2 separate regions of the Homo sapiens genome follow, and region 1 is linked to region 2. The links are contacts of gene promoters, found by promoter capture Hi-C in blood cells and fetal thymus (Javierre and others, 2016). All regions are on one chromosome and are shown on one strand. Each heading gives the region's core, a stretch centred on a gene start or on the middle of the fragment in contact. The rest is flanking DNA. Distances are from core to core; before and after follow the strand shown. Region 1 holds the start of ZNF157 (zinc finger protein 157). Region 2 holds the start of ZNF81 (zinc finger protein 81).

Evidence for each region. Contacts are between HindIII fragments. The CHiCAGO score rates a contact against its expected background, and 5 or more counts as called.
Region 1: the fragment with the promoter of ZNF157 here is called in contact with the fragment with the promoter of ZNF81 in region 2 in 1 of 17 cell types (non-activated CD4 T cells); the score reaches 6.1 in non-activated CD4 T cells.

The regions. Positions count from the first base shown.
Region 1 is chrX:47,366,943-47,373,255 of GRCh38, forward strand. It overlaps ZNF157 (zinc finger protein 157), which reads left to right and starts at 3,636. Exons shown (of 4, transcript NM_003446.4): 1 at 3,636-3,798. The coding sequence starts at 3,727. The HindIII fragment of the contact is 3,930 bases long and covers 3,186-6,313 here.
Region 2 is chrX:47,833,513-47,840,284 of GRCh38, forward strand. ZNF81 (zinc finger protein 81) reads left to right here and starts at 3,390. Exons shown (of 5, transcript NM_007137.5): 1 at 3,390-3,475. RefSeq lists an enhancer at 3,138-3,517. The HindIII fragment of the contact is 3,931 bases long and covers 1,820-5,750 here.

The DNA of each region.
Region 1 (6,313 bases), core at 2,386-4,885, 470 kb before region 2:
CTCTGATCACAGATCTCTTCTGATGTACCTTCGTTTCCTATTTCTTTAATTTCTGCTCTTATCTGTACCGTTTTCTCTAACTTCTTAAATTGGATGTTAATTCATTAATGCTCAGCCTTTCTTTGTTAAAAAAATTTTTAAGAGCATGCGTTTTTCCTTAAGAATCTCTTTAGCTGCAATCAAGAATATTTTGTATACACCATCTTTTCTTTCTTTCTTTCTTTCTTTTTTGACGGAGTCTCGCTCTGTCGCCCAGACTGGAGGGCAGTGGCGCGATCTCCACTCACTACAACCTCCGCCTCCGTTTCCAGCGATTCTCGTGCCTCGGCCTCCCGAGTCGCTGGGATTACTGGCGCACGCTACCACGCCCAGCTAATTTTTATATTTTTAGTGGAGATGGTGGTCTTGCCATGTTGCCCAGGCTGGTCTCCAACTCCTGGATTCAAACGATCCACTCGCCTCAGCCTCCCAAAGTGCTGGGATTACAGGCGTGAACCACTGCCCCAGGCCGACTATTTTATATTAGTCAAAATTTTTTTCTTTTTGTAATCGTATAGGCCCACCTCCTTAAAATGTTTATTCTGGCTGGGCGCGGTGGCTTACTCCTGTAATCCCAGCACTTTGGAAGGCCGAGGATGGCGATCGGTTGAGTCCAGGAGTCGAGACCAGCCTGGGCAACGCAGGGAGAACCCCGTCTGTACAAAAAAAAAAAAAAAGAAAGAAAGAAAGAAAGTAAGAAAAATTAGCTGGGCGTGGTGGAGCGTTCCTGTAGTCCCAGCTACTCCAGAAGCTGATGTGGGAGGATTGCCTGATTCCGAAAGCCGTGATTGCACCACTGCACTCCAGCCTGGGTGACAGAGGGAGACCTTGTCTCAAAAAAAAAAAAAAGTTATACTTACACTTACGTATTTTATATAGTTTTTGCTATCATTATTTATGCAATTTTGTTTCCATTGCCTCATTGTTATTATAGAGAGAAACTATCTGCTTTTGGCCAGGTGCGGCGGCTCATGCCTGTAATCCCTGCGCTTTGGGAGGCCGAGGTCGGAGGATCACGGGGTCTGGAGTCTGAGATCAGCCTGACCAACATGGTGAAACCCCATCTCTACTAAAAATACAAATATTAGCTGGGTGTGGTGGTGCATACCTGTAATTCCAGCTACTCAGGAGGCTGAGGCAGCAGAATCGCAGAAGCGCTTGAGCCCAGGCAGAGGTTGCAGTGAGCCGAGATCGTGCCACTGCACTCCAGCCTGGGCGGCAGAGTGAGACTCCGTCTCAAAAAAAAAAAAAAAAAAAAAGAAAAGAAACTATCTGCTTTTGTAATTTTACCTTGTATCCAGCCCCTTACATTATATTATACCCTATTAATTTTAGTAGTCTTTTAGCAGTCTGGTAGGTTTTCCATGTATAAAATCATCTTATTGGATAGAAAGCTACATTTTCGTTTTCATTTCTTCCCAATGTTCATGTTCACCCTAATTATTATTTTCTTTTTTCTTTCTGCCTTTTTTTCTTTTTCTTTTTCTTTTTTTTTTTTTTTGTTTTGTTTTGTTTTGTTTTTGGGGTGGAGTCTTGCTCTGTCACCCAGGCTGAAGTGCAGTGGCGTGATCTCGGCTCACTGCAGTCTCTGCCTCCCGAGTTCAAGCAATTTTCCTGCCTCAGCCTCCTGAGTAGCTGGGATTACAGGTGTGTGCCACCATGTCCAGCTAATTTTTGTGTTTTTAGTAGACACGGGGTTTCACCATCGTCTTGAACTCCTGACCTGCTGACCTCAGGTGATCAGCCTGCCTTGGCCTACCAAAGTGCTGGGATTACAGGCGTGAGCCGCCTCCTCTGGCCTCTTTTTTTTTTCTTTAATAGAAACAAAGTGTCACTCTGTCATCCAGGCTGGAGTGTAGTGGAGTGATCTCAATGCACTGCAACTCTGTGTGTGTGTTTTTGTTTGTTTGTTTGTTTTTTAAGGATACTGGGTTTTGCCATGTTGTCCAGGTTAGTTTTGAACACCTGGGCTCAAGGGATCCTCTTGCTTTGGCCTCCCAAAGTGTTGGGATTAAAGCCGTGAGCCACTGCACCTGGCCTGATTATTTATTTCTTTTCTCTTCTTTTCTCCTTTCTTCCCTCCTTCCTTCCTTCCTTCCTTCCATCCTTCCTTCCTCTCTTTCTTTCTTTCTTTCTTTCTTTCTTTCTTTCTTTCTTTCTTTCTTTCTTTCTTTCTTTCTCTCTTTCTCTCTTTCTTTTTCTTTCTCTTTTAGAGACAAAGTCTTGCTCTGTCACCCAGGCTGGAGTGCAGTGGCGCCATCAGAGGTCACTGCAGCCTCAACCTCTCAGGCTTCTTAAGCTATCCTTCTGCTTCAGCTTCCTTAGTAGCTGGCACTACAGGTGTGGACCACCACACTCGGATTATTTTATTTCTTGTAAAGACAGCGTCTCACTTTGTTGCCAAGGCTGGTTTCGAACTCCTGGACTCAAGCAACCCTCCTGTCTTGGCCTCCCAAAGTTCTGAGATTACAGGCATGAGCCACTGTGCCCAGCCCACTCTATTTCATCTTCTCTTGTGTGAGCTAGAGCCCACAAAACAATTTTGGGTTATAGCAGACAGTACTAATTTTGTGGCAATAGCTTCATCATTTTACTTTTTAGCATGGTGTTTCAGAGTTATGTTTCATAATTGATTTTTGTGGCACTTAAGTTATTTACTTTTTCCATGATTTTAGTTTGAGCTTATATTAGTAATGGCTGCTGAATTGCGTTGGATGCTTTTTTGGTGTAAGTTAACAGCAGAGTGTTTCCCTCTGTAATTTGTTGATGTAATACATAACATTAGGCCTGGTGCAGTGGCTCACACCTGTAATCCCAGCACTTTGGGAGGCCAAGGCGGGAGGATCACTTGAGGTCAGGAGTTCGAGACCAGCCTGACCAACATAGTGAAAACCCGTCTCTACTAAAAATACAAACATTAGCTGGGCGTGGTGGCGGGCGCCTGTAATCCCAGCCACTAGGGAGGCTGAGGCAGGAGAATCCCTTGAACCTGGGAGGCGGAGGTTGCTGTGAGCTGAGATCGCACCATTCCACTGCAGCCTGGGTGACAAGAGTGAAACTCCATCTCAAAAAAAAAAAAAAAAAAAAGAAAAAATACATAACATTATTAAGATTGAACCATTTTTTTCTGGAAAGAAGAGGCTAAAAGCTTCCCAGTAAAAGAATTTAAGAGGGATATTTCATCTAAGAGTGGAAAAAAACAAAAGACGGCAGAAGAAAGGACCAGCCGATTTCCTTTCATTTAGATTATCAGCTTTCCAGGTTTCCTGCCCTCACAGTCACCCACCAGGTCCCCTTGAACCTGCCCACCCCATGGGCCTTAAGCACCCTTAAGCACTGCCCCAGTTCTACTTCTCCTAAACCCAGATCTGCCTTGAACTTGAACTGAGGTGTAGGCTGGCTGAGTAGCGAGTGAAGCACCTGGTAGAGCCACTCAAGAAGGGACCCCAAGCTCATTAATTTGGCCCCAAATTTGATCATTTTGTAATCCACCTTGACTCATGCTCTGGGGATGCTGAACATTGTGGCGTGAATGTGGGATGACACTGATGATATGGATACTGTCCTTTTAGGATTTCTTGGTGTCTCTGTGGAGCCATTGAGCCTTACCCCTTACTGGAGGCTGCAGGACCCTCTACACACAGACAGCTGTCCAGCACGGAAGGTGGGCTGAGGCCCAGGGTGAACATGCCAGCTAATGGGACATCACCCCAGAGATTCCCTGCCCTGATTCCAGGAGAACCTGGCAGATCTTTTGAGGTAAGGAGGAGGATCCTATTTTTTTCTATATGTTCTTTATTTTTTTATTTATTTTTAGTTAAATTTATATTTTGAGATAATTGTAGATTCAAATGCAATGTACCATTTACCTAGTTTTTGTCCCCAGTAGTAACATCTCGTAATACCCAGGATATTGACATGCAGAGCATTTCCATCCCCACAAGGATCCCCCATGTTGTCATTAAATAGACACAACCACTTCACTTCCTCCATCACTCCCCTCTTAACCCTGGGGCACCACCAATCTGTTCTCCAATACTATAATTTTTTCATTTCAAGAATGTTGTGGCTGGACGTGGTGGCTCACGCCTGTCACCTGTAATCCCAGCACTTTGGGAGGCCGAGGCGGGTGGATCACTTGCGGCCAGGAGTTTGAGACCAGCCTGGCCAACATAGTGAAACCCTGTTTGTACTAAAAATACAAAAATTAACCAGGTGTTGTGGCACGCACCTGTACTCCCAGCTACTCGGGAGGTTGAGACCGGAAAATCGCTTGAACCTGGAGGCGGAGGTTGCAGTAAGCCAAGATCGTGCCACTGCACTCTGCCTGGGTGACAGAGTGAGACCCTGTCTCAAAAAAAAAAAAAAGTTTTATTTGCCGGGCATGGCAGCTCATGCCTGTAATCCCAGCTCTTAGGGAGGCAGAAGCAGGAGGATAGTTTGAGCCTAGGAGTTTGAGACCTGCCTGGGCAATATAGTGAGACCCTGTTCTCCACAAAAAGGAAAAAAAGGACAAAAAAGAGAGACTGTTATATTAATCAGATTGTACAGTATGTACCTTTTGGGACTGGCTTTCGTCATTCAGCAAAATTCTGTGGAGATATCAATAGCTAACAGTATATCAATAGTTCATTCATTTTTTTTGAGACAGAGTCTTGCCCTGTCACCCAGGCTGGACTGCAATGGCGTGATCTTGGCTCACTGCAACCTCTGCTTCCCGGGTTCAAGCTATTCTCCTGCCTCAGCCTCCCGAGTAGCTGGTATTACAAGTGCGTGCCACCACACCTGGCTAATTTTTTGTATCTTTAGTAGAGACGGGGTTTCACCATGTTGGCCAGGCTGGTCTTGAACTCCTGACCTCGTGATCCACCTGCCTCAGCCTCCCAAAGTGCTGGGATTACAGGCGTAAGCCACCGTGCCCTGCCCATTCCTTTTATTGCTGATACTTTTCCATCGCATGGATGTACCAAACAGTATAACCATTCACTGGTTGAAAGACATCTTGGTTGTTTCTAGTTGTTGGATATTATGAATAAAGATCCTATAATAGTTTGTGTAAGGTTTTTGTAGGGGTGTGATACTGTGAAATATATAATTGGTCTTTCCTGGCAAACAACTCCTAATATCCTCGGAATCTCTAAAGTACTAAAGTGTCTTTTTGTATGCTAATGAGTTGACTGATGCCTGGCAGTCCCTAGGCAGCTTCCGAATGGGGCTGGTCACCAGAAAGACTAAGGTAGGTTTAGAGGGTTGGGACCCTCCAACCACCTGGGAGGGGAGAGGGTGCTGAGAGTCAAGTCGATCCACAAGGGCAAATGATTTAATCAATCATGCCTACATAATGAAGCCCCCCTAAAGCCCCAAAAGGATAAAGTCTGGAGAGCTTCTGGGTAGCCGAACACATGGGGGTTCCTGGAGGGTGGTGCACCCAGAGAGCGCATGAAGACTCCAGGCCCCTTCCCACATGCCTTGCCCTATGTATCTCTTTATTTGGCTGTGATTTATTTGTATTCTTTTTTTTTTTTTTTTTGAGATGGAGTTTCGCTCTTGTTGCACAGGCTGGAGTGCAATGGCGTGATCTTGGCTCACTGCAAACTCCACCTCCTGGATTCAAGTGATTCTCCTGCCTCAGCCTCCCAAGTAGCTGGGATCACAGGCATATGCCACCACGCCCAGCTAATTTTGTATTTTTAGTAGAGATGAGGTTTCTCCATGTTGGTCAGGCTGGTCTCAAACTCCCGACCTCAGGTGATCCACCTGCCTTGGCCTCCAAAAGTGCTGGGATTACTGGTGTGAGCCACCATGCCCGGCCTGAATTTGTATTCTTTAAAATATCCTTTATTGGTGGGAGAGGCCGGAGAATTGCTTGAGTTCAGGAATTCAAGACCAGCCTGGGCAACAAAGTGAGACCTCATTACTACAAAAAATAAAGCTCAGGTGGGGCACGGTGGCTCATGCCTGTAATTCCAGCACTTTGGGAGGCCGAGGTGGGAGGATCGCTTGAGGTCAGGAGTTCAAGACTAGCCTGACCAACATGATAAAACCTCATCTCTACTAAAAATACAAAATTTAGCTGGGTGTGGTGGCGGGCACCTGTAATCCAGCTACTCGGGAGGCTGAGGTAGGAGAATCACTTGAACCTGTGAGGCGGAGGTTGCAGTGAGCCGAGGTCGCACCACTGCACTCTAGCCTGGGCAAAAGAGCGAGACTCTGTCTTAAAAAAAAATCCTTTATAATAAATCAGTAAACATAGTCAGTTTTGTGTTTCCTGTTG
Region 2 (6,772 bases), core at 2,140-4,639:
CCCCATTAATGAGTTACCATGGGAGTGGAACTAGTGACTTTATAAGAAGAGGAAGAGAGGCCAGGTGCAATGGCTCATGCCTGTAATCCCAGCACAAGGTCAGGAGTTCGAGACCAGCCTGACCAACATGGTGAAACCCTGTCTCTACTAAAAATACAAAAATTAGCTGGGCGTGGTGGCGCGCGCCTATAATCAGGAGGCTGAGGCAGGAGAATCGCTTGAACCCGGGAGGCAGAGGTTGCAGGCAGCCGAGATCGCACCACTGGACTCTAGCCTGGGCGACAGAGAAAGAATCCGTCTCAAAAAAAAAAGGAGGAGCGACCTCAGCTAGCATGCTCAGCCCCTTCACTGTGTGATACCCTGTGCTACCTTGGGACTCTGCAGAAAGTCCCTACCAGAAAGAAGGCCCTCACCAGTTATTGCCCTTCAACCTTGGACTTCTCAGCCTCCGTAACTGTAAGAAATAAATTCCTTTTCTTTAGAAATTACCCAGTTTCAGGTATTCTGTTGTAAGCAACAGAAAACAGACTAAGAAACATGCATATCCTAGGTTTCTTGTGCAAGTGTTTCTCTTGGTTACATTCATGAGAGTGGACTCACTGGATTGTTAAGGTATGTATATATTCACTGTAGGAGAAAATGCAAAAATATTTTCTAAAGTGGTTGCACTGATTTACATTCCTTCAACAGGGCAAAAAGATCCTGTTGGCCCACATACTCTCCAACTCTTGGTATTGTCAGACTTTTATGTTTTTGCAATTTGAATGGGTATAAAATGTCATTTTTATCATGTCTTGATTTGTATTTCCCTTATCACAAATGACTTTGAACATCTCTTTATATGTTTGCTGGCTCTATATCTCCTTCTTCTCTGAAGTGGTCTAACAGAACTTTCTTTTTTTTTTTTTTTTGGTACTATTATGACATCCAAGAACACTAACAGTGATTCTTGGCACTCTATTAGAAGTGTATGCATGCCAAATATGCTTCCACTGATTCCATTCTTCTTTCATTTATTCATTCAACAAACATTTGCCCAGACCAGGGATGCAGGGGCAGAATGACAAGCTGGGATAATCAAAGTTCAACTGCTATGGTTCAAATGTTTGTCTCCTCTGAAACTCATATTGAAATTGCCATTGTAACAGTATTAGGAGGTGGGGCCTTTAAAAAGTGAATAGGTCATGGAGGCTCCATTCTCATAAACTGATTAATGCTGTCACTGAGGGAATGGGTTAGTCACCTCAAGAGTGGGTTGTTATAAAGTGAGCCCAGTCCCTTGTGCTTTCTCTTTGTTCATACACTTGCTTGCCCTCTTGTCCTCTGCCATGGAATAATGCAGCAATAAGGCCCTCACCAGATGCTGGCACCAAGTTGGACTTCCCAATCTCCAGAACTATGAGCCAAATAAGCTTATTTTCTTTATAAATTACCCAATCTGTGATATTCTGTTACAGTAGCAGAAAATGGACAAAGATACCAACTCTCTAAAAAAATTAAAATGAAAATCGGACTATAAAAATCTGCCTTGCTATTCATCAGGATGGAAGAACAGACACATATAAAGCCAAATGCAAAATTCACAGGAAACATTATTTCTTCTAAGGACAGGCTGCAGTTGTAATGCCATAAAGAACCCCTACTTTAAGTGCCTATTGCTTTCTTGGTCAATGAGAAACTTTGTTCTCTACAATCATAGACTATCAGAAACTTTGCTGTTTGAAATGATATCAGTAAGAGGGAAACATCTGATTCTCATGGGAGATTCTAAGTCACTTCCAGACAGAGAAGCAAGATTCAATTTTCAACCCAGGTGCAAAGCTTTAGGCAAGAGTTATCTGGGGACACAAAATTCTACATCTAAATTGTTTCCAAGGAAACAGCACTCTGGGTTCACTTCACAGTCCAGACCTGACAATTACCCTTTACATACAGCCCTGCTTTCCTTTGAGCCCACTAAAACACTGCTTCATTTAATTTCATCTGAACTCCACTATTCCTCAAAATCCTATAAGAACTCTATCTTTTCCTTTGCTTAGTGAGCTGCCCATGGTGCCCCTGGTGTGCAGTCTCCCTTATTGATTGCTGGATCTGTCAGACTAAAAATTAGTTTGAGGCTAATTGGACTAGGACACCTCTAACCTTCGAGATTGTTAAACCGAGGGCCAGAGGGGATAAGACTGGATTGAGAGCCCCCAGCAAGTCCACACTTCAGCCTACACCAGGTCCTCTCAAAATATTTTTTTCACCTGAGGATTCAGAAAGGCTTTCAGGAGGGCACACAGGCTTCTAGCTCTGTCAGGATTCTCTGGAGGAGGAGATATTTGAACTTGATTTTGAAGGATGAATAGGCATTCTTAGGTGAAGGACTGCACGACTTCTTCCCCTTCTGCTCCAGTGACATCTCCCAGAGGGCAGGGGCATCTCCAGAATTTACACATTGGAGGTGATATGGAGCAGCAAACTGGTTGAAGGGTAGAAGCAGAGCCTTGTATTAAAGCTACATTTCCAAAGTAAGGGCACCATGACCACATATATTTTACTTCATGAGGAAATAAAAATAATAAAGTTTCCTAAAGATTTTTATTGACATATTGCATTGGACTAAGGACACATTAAAAATTATTAGTATTGGTACTACGTAGTCCCTTTTTAGCTGGGGTAGATGGAGTGGGAGATAAGGTAAATTGCTGCAGCATTCAAACCTCGCATCCAAGCCCCACAGGCACAGCAGGAGGGGAACCCAGCACTCTGAGTTCTCCCTTTTTCCCACCTCATGGCATATCCTAGGAGGGCTTGCATAACCATGATTTCTCCTCCTCCTCCTCCCCTTGTGGTATGTCCTAGGAGAAGCCTGTAACCAGCCTGACATCTCCCCGCTTCTCATCCTGTGGTATCTGCCAGGAGATAGCCGCGGCCGCCCCTGATTCTTTCCAAGAGGCCCTTCAGTTTCTCGGAGCGGTATCACACAGATCCATAGACTACAGGTCCAAAGACCCCCTCCTCCAGTTAGCCCGCCCAGAGAAACGTCCCCACCCGTGCTCCCTGCCACCAGCGGGACAGCTCCACCTGAGTTTAGAGCAGACAGCTCTAAACTCACAGCCTGCTCTGTGAGTTCAGAGGTGTCCTCATCCTCAATACGGATGGACACTCCTCCAACATGGTGTATCCCATGGGGAAGCGCGACGTGGGCGCGGCCATGTTCCCCACCTGACCACGCCGCCGAGGGGTACCGAACGTCCCAAAGCACCCACTTCCGTAACTTCTCCATGTTGACTCCTGGCTAACAGCAGCTTCAAAGGTGGTTTTGCGCACGCGCGGAACCTCCGCTTCCCTCATTCATGTGAAGTCCCAAACCCCGAAAAAGGGCGGTGCTAGGGGTAGTGACCGGAAGCGGCTGCGGTTCTCGCCGGTTCTCAGCCGGGGTTTGATAGTTGTCAGGAGGATTCGACGTTCAGTGCCCAGGGATGTGGAGGTGATGGGGGGCCGGGGAGGGTGAGTGCTGGGCGATTCTGTGTGGCCAGTGATGGAATCGTTTATCTAACTTGAGTTGGATGATTCACTCATCATTTTGCAGGCTTTTCTCTTTTCTAACATCACCGTTAAGGTCTTAAAGTTCATTCTAAGCCCCATTGGGTTTGGAGCATTATGTTTTTTAAGAGTGTTAACTTGTATTCATTTGTCTTTTACCCGGGAGTTATTCAAAAGTGGGGTTTCAGTGTGCAAAAGTTTATCTCTGTAATGGATCTCTAACCTTAGTTTTCTGTGTTAGAAAAATATCTACGTGAAGCTCATTCCTTGAAATATAAGGAGACTTATGGCCTAGTCCGTGGTGAATTTTTAGAAACGTTCTATATATAACTTGAAAATAATATTTAATTATTTAGTCGTCAATTGTGTCATAGAAAATCTATCCTTTTTTGTCTGCTTCTTCTATTACTTCGAGGAGAGAGAAATTCTCCACTGTGATGGTGATTTGTCTGTGTCTCCTTACTGCTGTCTGTGATCCTCTGTGAGTTACTTTTTGTATAAAGTATGAGACTTAGGTCGAGGTGCATTAATTTGCTTATGGATGTCCAGACTGAAGCACCATTTGTTGAAAAGACTATCTTTCCTCCATTGACTTGTCTTTCACCATTGTCAAAAATAAGTTGGCCATACTTGTGTGTGGGCTCTTTCTGGGTTTGCTATTCAGTTCATTGTCTATGTGTCTATCCCTCTGCCAGTACTACCTTGCTGTCTTGAATTGGATAGAGTGATTCCTCTCACTTTATTCTTTTTCAAAATTGTTTTAATGCCTCTGGTTCCCTTGCCTTTCCTATATGCATTTTAGAAAATCTTGTCTCTATCTACAAAGCATCTTGCTTGGATTTTGATAGGAATTGCATTAAACCTGTATACCAACTCGGGAAGAAGTTAAGTCTTAACTGTGCCAAGTCTTCCAATCCATATACATAGTATGTCTCTCTATTTATTTAGATCTTTTAAAATTTCTATAAATGGTGTATTTTAATTTTCATCACCCAAGTTCTGTACATGTCTTATTCAATTTATACCTAAGTATTTAATTGTTTTGGAGTGGTCATAAATGGTGTTATCTTTTAAATTGTTGCTTATATATAGGAATACAATTGAGTTTTGTCTGTTGGTCTTGTATCCTGCAATCTTGCTGAGCTCAATTATTAGGTTTTACACCTTTTTTGGCAGATTCCTTGGATTTTCTGCATGAGCAATCATGTCATATACAAACAGGGATAGTTTTATTTCTTTCTTTCCAATCTTTATACCTCTGCTTTTCTTCCCTTATTACACTGGCAAGAAGTTCCAGTACTATGTTGAATAAGAGAGTGGACATCTTTGCATTGTTTTCAGTCTTAGGGGGAAAATATTCAACCTTTTACCATTAAGTATGATTTTAGCTGTAGGGCTTTCTTTTTTTGGACCCTCTTTTTTGGTTGAGGAAGTTCCCCTCTATTTTTAATTTCAAAAGTAGTTTTTATCGTGAATGGGTGTTGAATTTCATCAACACTCTGAATTTTGATGATCTTGTGATTTTTTTTCTTTTTTAGCTTGTCAGTATGGAGGGTTATGCTGATTGATTTTTGAATATTGAACTAGTCTTACATTCCTGGAATAAACCCTACTTGGTTGTGATGTATAATTCTTTGGATATATTGAAGGAATTGATTAGCTAATGCTTTTTTGAGGATTTTTGCATCTAAGTTCATGGGAAATATTTGTCTATAGTTTTCTTTTTTATACTATCTTTGTCTGGTTTTATTTTTTATTTTTGAGACAGGCTCTCACTCTGTTCCTCAGGCTGGAATGCAGTGGTGTGACCATGGCTTACTGCAGCCTTGACCTCCCAGCCTCAAGTGATTCTTCCACCTCAGCCTCCTGAGTAGCTGGGACTCCAGGCACACGCCACCACACCCAACTAATTTTATTATTTTTTGTAAACCGGGTCTCACTATGTTGCCCAGGCTGGTCTCAATCTCCTGGGCTCAAATAGTCCTCCTGCCTCAGCCTCTCAAAGTGCTGGGATTACAGGTGTTAGCCACTGCTCTTGGCTTTGTCTGGTTTTAGTATTAGGGTAATACTGGCCTCATTGAATGAGTTGGGGACTATTTCCTCCTCTTCTGTTTTCTGGAAGAGACTGTGTAGAATAAGTACTAATTTTTATTTAAATATTTAAATATTTGGTAGACTTCTCCAGTGAAGCCATCTGGGCCTGGAAACTTCCATTTGGAAGCTTTTTGATCATGGCTTCAATGTCTGTAATAGTTATGTAACTATTCAGATTATCTATTTAATATCATTTTAGACTACAGGTTAAGCATCCCTAATTCAAAAATCTGAAATCCAAAATGCTTCAAAATCCAAAACTTTCTGAGTGCCAACATAATGCCACAAGCAAAATTTCACACCTGATTTTGTGACAGGTCACAGTCAAAATGCAGTGAAAACTTTGTTTCATGCACAAAATTATTAAACATGTTATATAAAATTACCTTCAGGCTATGTTATAAGGTAACATAGTGTACATGAAACATAAATGAATTCTGTGTGTATACTTGGGTCTCATTCTGCAAGATACTTTATTATGTATATGCATATATTCCAAAATAAAAAAAAACTGAAATCTGAAACACTTCTGTTCCCAAGCATTTTGGATAAGAGACATTCAACCTGCATTTAATAGTGGGTGAATTGTGGTACTTTGCATTTTACAAGGAATTGGACTGTTTCATCCAAGTTGTTGAATTTATGTGCACAAAGTTGTTGTGGTATTCCCTTACTATCCTTTTAATGCAAGCTTGTCCAACCCGCTGTCCGTGGGCCACATGTGGCTCCGGACAGCTTGGAATGCAGCCCAACACAAATTCGTAAACTTTCTTAAAATATTGTGAGTTTTTTTTGCATTTTTTTTAAAGCTCATCAGCTATCGTTAGTGTTAGTGTATTTTATGTGTGGTGAAAGACAATTCTTCTTCCAGTGGGGCCCAGGGAAGCCAAAAGATTAGATACCCCTGTTTTAATGGCTGCAGGATCTGCAGTTACATCTCTGTGTTTCATTTCTAATATTGGTAATTTGTGTCTTCATGTCTTCTCTCTCTTTTTTTTTTTTTTTTTGCAGAGACAAGTGAACATTTATTTTTGTGCCTTTCTTCCTATGTGTATTTCGAGTCTTTTTCAAAACAAGTCCCCAGGAATCTCCAGATTCAATTATGTCCCTGGGCTTGGTCGACTGCTGCAGGATTCTTAGGAAGCAT